Linked DNA regions of Homo sapiens: region 1 is linked to region 2. The links are contacts of gene promoters, found by promoter capture Hi-C in human tissues and cell types (Jung and others, 2019). All regions are on one chromosome and are shown on one strand. Each heading gives the region's core, a stretch centred on a gene start or on the middle of the fragment in contact. The rest is flanking DNA. Distances are from core to core; before and after follow the strand shown. Region 1 overlaps PAQR5 (progestin and adipoQ receptor family member 5). Region 2 holds the start of KIF23 (kinesin family member 23).

Region 1 (3,858 bases), core at 793-3,292, 54 kb after region 2:
AAGAGCCTAGGAGAGAATGCTAATAATGACAACCAACATTATTAATTGTTCACCACGTGCCAGGCACTTCACTTGGGTTATCTCATTTAATTCTCACAACCCCAGGAGGCAGATACTGTTGTCATTCCCATTTTACAGAAGCCAAAGCTGAGGTAGAGAGATTATCTTGCTTGAGGCCACTCTAAAAACCAAGTATTGGAACCCACAGATCCCACCAAAGGTAAGCTTTAACAATTGTATGAAGTATCCTATTTTAAATATTCATGTAAATTGTGCATTCCATTTTTAATACCTGTGCATCTGTTTTAATACTAATAAATGTCTTTGCCCCCAAATCCTCAGGTAAAACTACCCTCCAGGCAGGCAGAGCCACTATATTTTCTCTATGGCTTCATGAACCCTGGGCATGATGCCCAAAAACCCAATAGTGGATGCTGGAGCCCAAGGCAGATTTTGAAGCAAACGGTGGCTGCAAAGTGTGATGTTGGTCTTCTGCCTCTAGCTAGTGCCATTTCACTAAAGATATCATCATCCTCTAACTTACGAAAAACTGGACAGAGAGGACATGTTCATCTTTCTCCCTTAGCCTCTGCCAGGGTTGTCCAGCCCTGACATTCAGAATCTCCATACATTCAGATTCCCAGCAGGTTACCCAAAGGACCTATTGATACCACTCTGCCCCCTTCACTTCTTTCCTGCGGACATACTCTGAATCCAACCCTGACCAAAATGTCCAGAAAGATATCTAAGCAGACTCCCATAACCTCTACCCCCAAGACGCTCCCCAGTCCCCCCACCATCACCACCTGCCCCATGATCTCCCATCTCTAGGCCTTTGCTCACACTGCTCCTTCCACCTGGAATGCTCTCCCCACTTCCACAATCCTGTCCACCCCTCAGATCACCCCCTTCATGAAGCCTTCCCTGATCACTTCCTCCCTGATATAATTTGGCTCTGTGTCCCCATTCAAATCTCATCTGAAATTGTAATCCCTATAATTCCCACATGTCAAGGGAGGAACCTGGTGGGAGGTGATTGGATCATGGGGGTGTTGTCCCCCAAACTGTGAGTGAGTTCTCTTGAGACCTGATGGTTTCATAAGTGTCTGACAGTTCCTCCTTCACATCATGCTCTCTCTTGCCTACTGTCATGTAAGACGTGCCTCTTCCCTCATGATTGTAAGTTACCTGAGGCCTCCACAGCCATGAGGAACTGTGAGTCAATTAGACCTCTTTTCTTTATAAATTACCAGGTTTCAGGCAGTTCTTTATAGCAGTGTGAGAATGGACTAATACACTCCCTCGTGATGGAAGTGACCAATCCCTTCTCTGAAACAATCACCCTGTCTTAAGATAGACCCTAACCCACTTTAGAAAAGAATTTCTCATGCACATTTAAAAATCTTCCTGACCAACATATGAGTCACGCAAGGACAGGATTTGTATGTAATTATTCTCTGAATCCCTTGCACATAGTAGGCAGTCAATACAAATTTCATGAGTAAATAAATTCAAGAATCACACTGTGTTCCCACTAATCACAGCTGCTAATGCTCTATGGGTAGAACCAACCAGCAAAGTGCACCAAAAGGAGAAGGTGATTGCCCTGTGAGAACAGAGGCAGGTGCTCTGCCCAGTGTCATGGGAGACAGCCACACGTGTAGCTTGCCTATTACTTGCCACATTCCTCAGCTCACCCCACCAAACAGCTCTGCACCACTTACGGTTTTCCCCCATGCCATCTTCCTGGAATCACCTGGCTTCACAGGCTTTTAGGGTTAGGGTTTGGCAATTTCCCCCTCAACCTTCCATTGGTGATGTTGAGTTTATTTCAAACTTATTTTTCTGGGGCAAGTCATAAGTGCTTGGTAATCAGCCAAGCCAAGTAGAACTCTCCTCCACTCTGTCACATCTTCCCAAAGAAACTTCCCACCATGAAATGACACCCACTTTTCTTAGTCAAAAAGGAAGGAAATTTGACATCAACAAAGGGGTGCAACACAATGATGTTTCCTTTGCAAGAGAAGGAGGAAGTGCACCAGTTCTCTGTAGCACACAACCAGGCTCACCTATGGCTTAGTAAAGCAGATCATCAGTGAGTCTCACATATTTCAGGGTACCTGCCTGTGAGCTCCCAGGCCCATGGGTCCACTAAAGGGCAATGCTAAGGCTCATTCAACAACCCTCCCCATCGCCCCAGTGAAGGCCTGGCCTGGGCATCCTGCAAGTAATGGGGATGAGCAAAGCCATGACCTGGTGTGCCTTTGCCCATAGCCTGCTTTCAAGCACCCATAGGAGGGGCCTGAAAAAATAAACTTCCTACCCAGCCAGCTGCTGCTGGCTTTATCTCTTCAGGTTGAATCTCAGTAATGACTTTGCTTCTGGATAACACACAGATGTTGCAAGGAAGGGTTACAACTTAAACAACTTTGGGAATACTTCCATTTCAAGGTAGGTGGGGGAAGTAGGAGGCTGTAATATCCCCCAAGGAAGTGTGGGAAGGGGTCCTTGAAGGGAATGGGCCTGTACAGAACAGACTAGGTGAAGACAACAGCCCCCCATTGCGGAGGCCAAGCCCTGGTCACACTCTGGAAATGAACCATCATAATCAATAGAGCACATACCTGGGGTATCTGGTCTATGCTAAACAGCCTGGGGAGCTTCAGGCTCAGCATCTTGGAGCTGGATTGGCAAGGCCAGTAGGTGACAGCGCCTCCCTGTTACCAGGCCTCACTCAAAGCTCTAACATGGCCTGGGGCGTCTCTGCCTAGCTGGTGCTGTGCCGCTTCCCTGAAAGAGGACAGCATGAAGAAATCCAGTCAGTTTCAGCCTAACTCCAGCTGGGTCAGGACAGTCAGCTTGTTCAACTATTGAACATATACTTGCTACACATGATGGCACAAGATCAAGCTTCCTTAAAAACAGCAAAATGATCAGACTGCTGAGTCATCCACTCCAAGAGTGCTGGAGGGAGGTAATTAATAATAAGGGAGGAGACCACCCCTCATATTGTCTTATGCCCAATTTCTGCCTCCAAAGAAAGAAAAAGTAAAATCTAAAAGGCAGAAATGAAATCCACAAGCAGACAGCCGGCACCACACCCTGGGCCTGGTAGTTAAAGATTGACCCCTGATCTAATCAGTTATGTTATCTATAGATTACAGACATTGTATAGAAAAGCACTGCGAAAATCCATATCCTGTTTTGTTCCCATCTAATTACCAGTGCATGCAACCCCCAGTTACATACCCCCTGCTCGATCAATCAATCACGACCCTCTCACACGCACCCCCTTAGAGTTGTGAGCCCTTAAAAGGGACAGGAATTGCTCACTTGGGGAGCTCGGCCCTTGAGACAGGAGTCTTGCTGATGCCCCCCGGCCAAATAAACCGCTTCCGTCTTTAACTCGGTGTCTGAGGAGTTTTGTCTGCGGCTCATCCTGTGACAATAATATGGGCAATTACTATGGTCTGAATGTTTGTGTCTCCCCAAAATTCATGTGTCAAAACCTAATCTCCAATGTGGTGACAAGGAGCAGGGCTTTTGGGAGGTGACTAGGTCATGAAGGCTCTGCCCTTACGAGTGGGATTAGTGCTCATAGAAAAGAGGTGTGAGGGAGCTTGTTCGCCCCTTCCACCATGTGAAGACACATAGAAGGAGACATCTATGAGGAATGGGCCCTCACCAGACGGGGAATCTGCTGGCACTGTGACCTTGGACTTCCCAGCCTCCAGAACCATTAGCAATAAATTTCTGTTGTTTATAAATTACCCAGTCTTAGATATTTTGTGATAGCATGCCAAATGGACTAAGACAGTGATCATAAAATTGCAGAGCTAAGGCCAGGTGTGGTGGCTC
Region 2 (3,506 bases), core at 1,000-3,499:
CTTAACTCAGAGCCAGGGACCCACTCCAGTGGCAACGAGGGATAGATTTAAAATACCTCAGAGCAAAGAACCCTTTTTGTTTGCCATTTGTTGTTTTGTTTTAAAATTCTTATTCTTTTTGCCTGCTTCATTTTTTCTTCATAATTTAACTGAATTAAACTTGGTCCCAAGAAGTTTGGAACTCTCCTCATGCCATCAGTTACTGTATGGCATGAACTCAGTTCATATTCTCTGGGATGAATATGAACCCAGTTGGAGATTTTTAATTATCTAACTCTCCAAATTATAATTACAGAAGGTATGCAGTTGACAACCAAAGACTTCATTTTACTGGACTAATTTAATTAATCTTATAGAGAAAATTTCACAGCTAGCACTAGTTTTACACAATGTAGTACATCCATTTAACTAAATGTTCTTTGATTATACTTCCACATGTCTTCTTCTTTCCCTTCCAAGCATACACATAAGACAGAAAGGACTGAAGAGATAAGTTTCTTAAACACCACACATAAATTTACAGGGATACCTTACCCCAACTGGGTCTTTAAGGTTCGTTTGGGACCCTTTTTTCACGGTAGGTTTCCGGGGTGTCTTAGCTCTCCTGGTCATAGATTAAAAAATAATAATAACTTTTTTTTCAGTTCAACACGAATACAAAAGCCTCACCTAAAACTTATACAATCTTTCTAGGTTATCTGTAAATTATCCCTTAGCAGTTGCAAAACACTGCATCCCAAATAACATTAATAATCATAGTAGCAGAGTGTTTGTGGCATGCGTAATCCAAAAGTAATTAAAATTTGCTTTAGAATACATTTTTGGTACCAAAGCTACCTACTTATTCTCTGATTAGTTCTATACTTAAAATGGCTTGCATATTTTCTTGAGCAACAATTTAACAGAGGCACTACAAATTATAACTGCCCACACTTTACAGACTGACAAGCGATTAACTTCAATACACTATAAAAATGCACATGGAGGAAACCATTCTTTCGTCAAGGGTTACGCCTGTACTTTCAAGGAACAACCAGTCATTGAATGCTCAAAACATTACTCTTTGTCTCCAAACAAAATCTGGTCCCAAACTGCCAATTTCTTGGTTTCTTAAGTAGGGGCAATCAAAAAGTTATTTTGATTGATTTCACCATTTCTCTAGCATCTCATCTTTTTCCCTTCACATTTATCTATAGGCTAGATATACATTTAACACATTAAAATTAAGTAAGATTATTGGCTTCGACTGTAGTTTAAAAATATTTTTCCAAACATATTCTCAGATGAAACACAAGCAAATTCGTGTTATTCAGTGCAAAATACTTTGTGGTGGGCTTAAGTTAAACTCAACGTATATTTCTTATATATAATTTTTTTCATCTAAAGATTTTGACTTCGGCCTCTTAATAAACAAGTTGTCTTTTGCAAACGACTCCCTAAATGGTAATAAAGCCAATCCTCTCCTTTGCACGACAAATATTTCTTTACCCAGGAATGATGCTGCGCCGAAAATATTAGCTTAGGAATGTGGGCGGAGGTTCTCTGCGGCCACAAAATACAGCAGAAGTAACTGGCCTGTGTAAGCGGATGGGCTCGGCCTCAAGGACAGGGTGCTCGGCTGAAAAAAAAGCTAGCGGCGATCACCGGTGCCAGGGCTCTCCAGAAACGGAGCCCATCTAACCAATGCCCAGCACACTCGCTCTGCTCCACACACGAGACCACCTCCGACCCGCACTAAGTTGGCCAACTGCACTCTGGAGGCGGCGGCAGCCAGCGAGGGAGAAGGGAAAGGCTGTCCCGGGACCCCGAGGAGGACTGCCCCGCCCCCGGGAACCGGGTGCGGCGTAAAACAACCCCGGCTCCGGGCCGACCCTTCCTGGCCCCTTGGAGGCCCAGGCGGGGCGGCGGGGGGCGACGCGGCAGGGGTCTCCGCGCCCAGGCTCCCGCGGAGCGGCCACACGTGGAGGTTCCCACTTTGGGGTCGCGGCCGCAGCAGCACCGGGCGGGATGCTGTCCGCGCTGCCCGCGTACGGCCGCGGCCTGAGTGGAGACGCCTGCCCCCAGCCCCGAGGCCTCGGCCCCCGTCCGCCCTCTCTCCCTGCTCGGCGGCCTCGTACTCACGCTGACTTCATGGCAGCAGGCTCCACGCCGCCCAAACGCGCATGCGGGACGGCTGGCTGGCGAAGACTGCGGGACGTTAGGACCGGCAGCAAGAACTAGAACTTCGCGGCTAAGGCGCGGTGCTCTGCGAAGCCGGCGGCGACGCTAAGAGCCCAGGTGAGCTCCCGCCTGGCGCATTTCAAACGGGCCAATCAGCGCCCGTCCGCAGGGAGAGGCAGGACCTCCGCGGAAGTGACTTCGCTGCCGGAAGTGGCGCTTGTCTCCTAGGCGACCGACGCTGAAAGGGCCGCGGAGTCGCGTGTCAGGGCTGGAGGGAGATCTTGAGGTATGGTATTTAAACTCTTCCGCCTTGCGATGACGAAACTGAGGGTTTCTTTTCCTCCATCACAAGAAGTTCAATGGAAGGGCCTTTCCAGGGTTGATTCAGAGGTCGGAATGTCGTTCTGGTGAAAAGTGTTGTATTCCTGTGCTGTGCCCTGCTCCAAGTCTCAGGCTCCGTCTCTCTGGCTCCCAAGTCACCACATTATCTTGGCGTCTTTTCTCTCTCTGATTCACCTTTCCTGGGTTTCCCTCCAGCTCTGTCCTATATGTACATTATTTTATCAAATCTTTTTTTTTTCCTTTTTTATTTTTTGAGGTGGAGTTGCTCTGTCGCCCAGCCTGGACTGCAGTCTTCAGCTCACTGCAACCTCCACCTCCTAGGTTCAAGCAATTCTCTTGCCTCAGCCTCCCGAGTAGCTGGGATTACAGGCGCGCACCACCACGCCCAGCTAATTTTTGTATTTTTAGTAGAGATGAGGTTTCACCATATTGGCCAGGGTGGTCTAGAACTCCTGACTTAAGGTGATCTGCCTACCTTGGCCTCCCAAAGTGCTGGGATTACAGGCGTGAGCCACTGCGCCCGGCCTGTTTTATCAAATCTTGATTGTGTTTGATCCTGGCCTTACGGAGATGAATAAAATTTGGTCCTTACCCTTAAGGGGCAACCTTTTGAACCTACTCTTGCCTTAGATGAACTGATTCTATATCACTTCTGTCTTTGACCCTAAGCCGATGACTACCAAATACACATCTACACCTGGGCTCTCATGGAACTCTAGCCCCTTCTCAACTTCCTAAAGGACCACAGCACTGGTAAGGATAGTCACAATGTCCTTGGCCAATATTGTTGGTGCTCAGGAAACGACACCCCAGAGTATGGCTCTTTGGCACACTGAGTGCTTTGAACTAAAGAAGACTGAAAGTGCCTCAGAGAAGCCTTAAAAGCAAAGTCTGTCTCTGACTTTCTCCTGCCCTCTTGTCTCCCACCCCTCTGTGTCTCCTAAAGCAAATAATAGAAACCAGAATTTCTGTTCCCCAAGGCGGGTCATGGAAACTAGAACCCC

What was found. Contacts are between HindIII fragments. The study calls those that stand out against the background at their distance.
Region 1: a contact is called between a fragment that was not itself captured here and the fragment with the promoter of KIF23 in region 2, in 2 of the 25 tissues and cell types used here (mesendoderm cells and pancreas).

Annotation. Positions count from the first base shown.
Region 1 is chr15:69,358,898-69,362,755 of GRCh38, reverse strand. PAQR5 (progestin and adipoQ receptor family member 5) reads right to left here. Exons shown (of 9, transcript NM_017705.4): 3 at 2,625-2,790. The coding sequence starts at 2,675. Among named protein-coding and RNA genes, the nearest start is that of KIF23, 54 kb to the left of the region's middle. The HindIII fragment of the contact is 4,443 bases long and covers 1-3,858 here.
Region 2 is chr15:69,413,092-69,416,597 of GRCh38, reverse strand. It overlaps KIF23 (kinesin family member 23), which reads right to left and starts at 2,249. Exons shown (of 24, transcript NM_001367805.3): 1 at 2,122-2,249; 2 at 535-604. The coding sequence starts at 2,132. It overlaps KIF23-AS1 (KIF23 and PAQR5 antisense RNA 1), which reads left to right and starts at 1,569. Exons shown (of 2, transcript NR_132971.1): 1 at 1,569-2,446. RefSeq lists silencers at 1,850-1,929, 1,960-2,079. The HindIII fragment of the contact is 14,046 bases long and covers 1-3,506 here.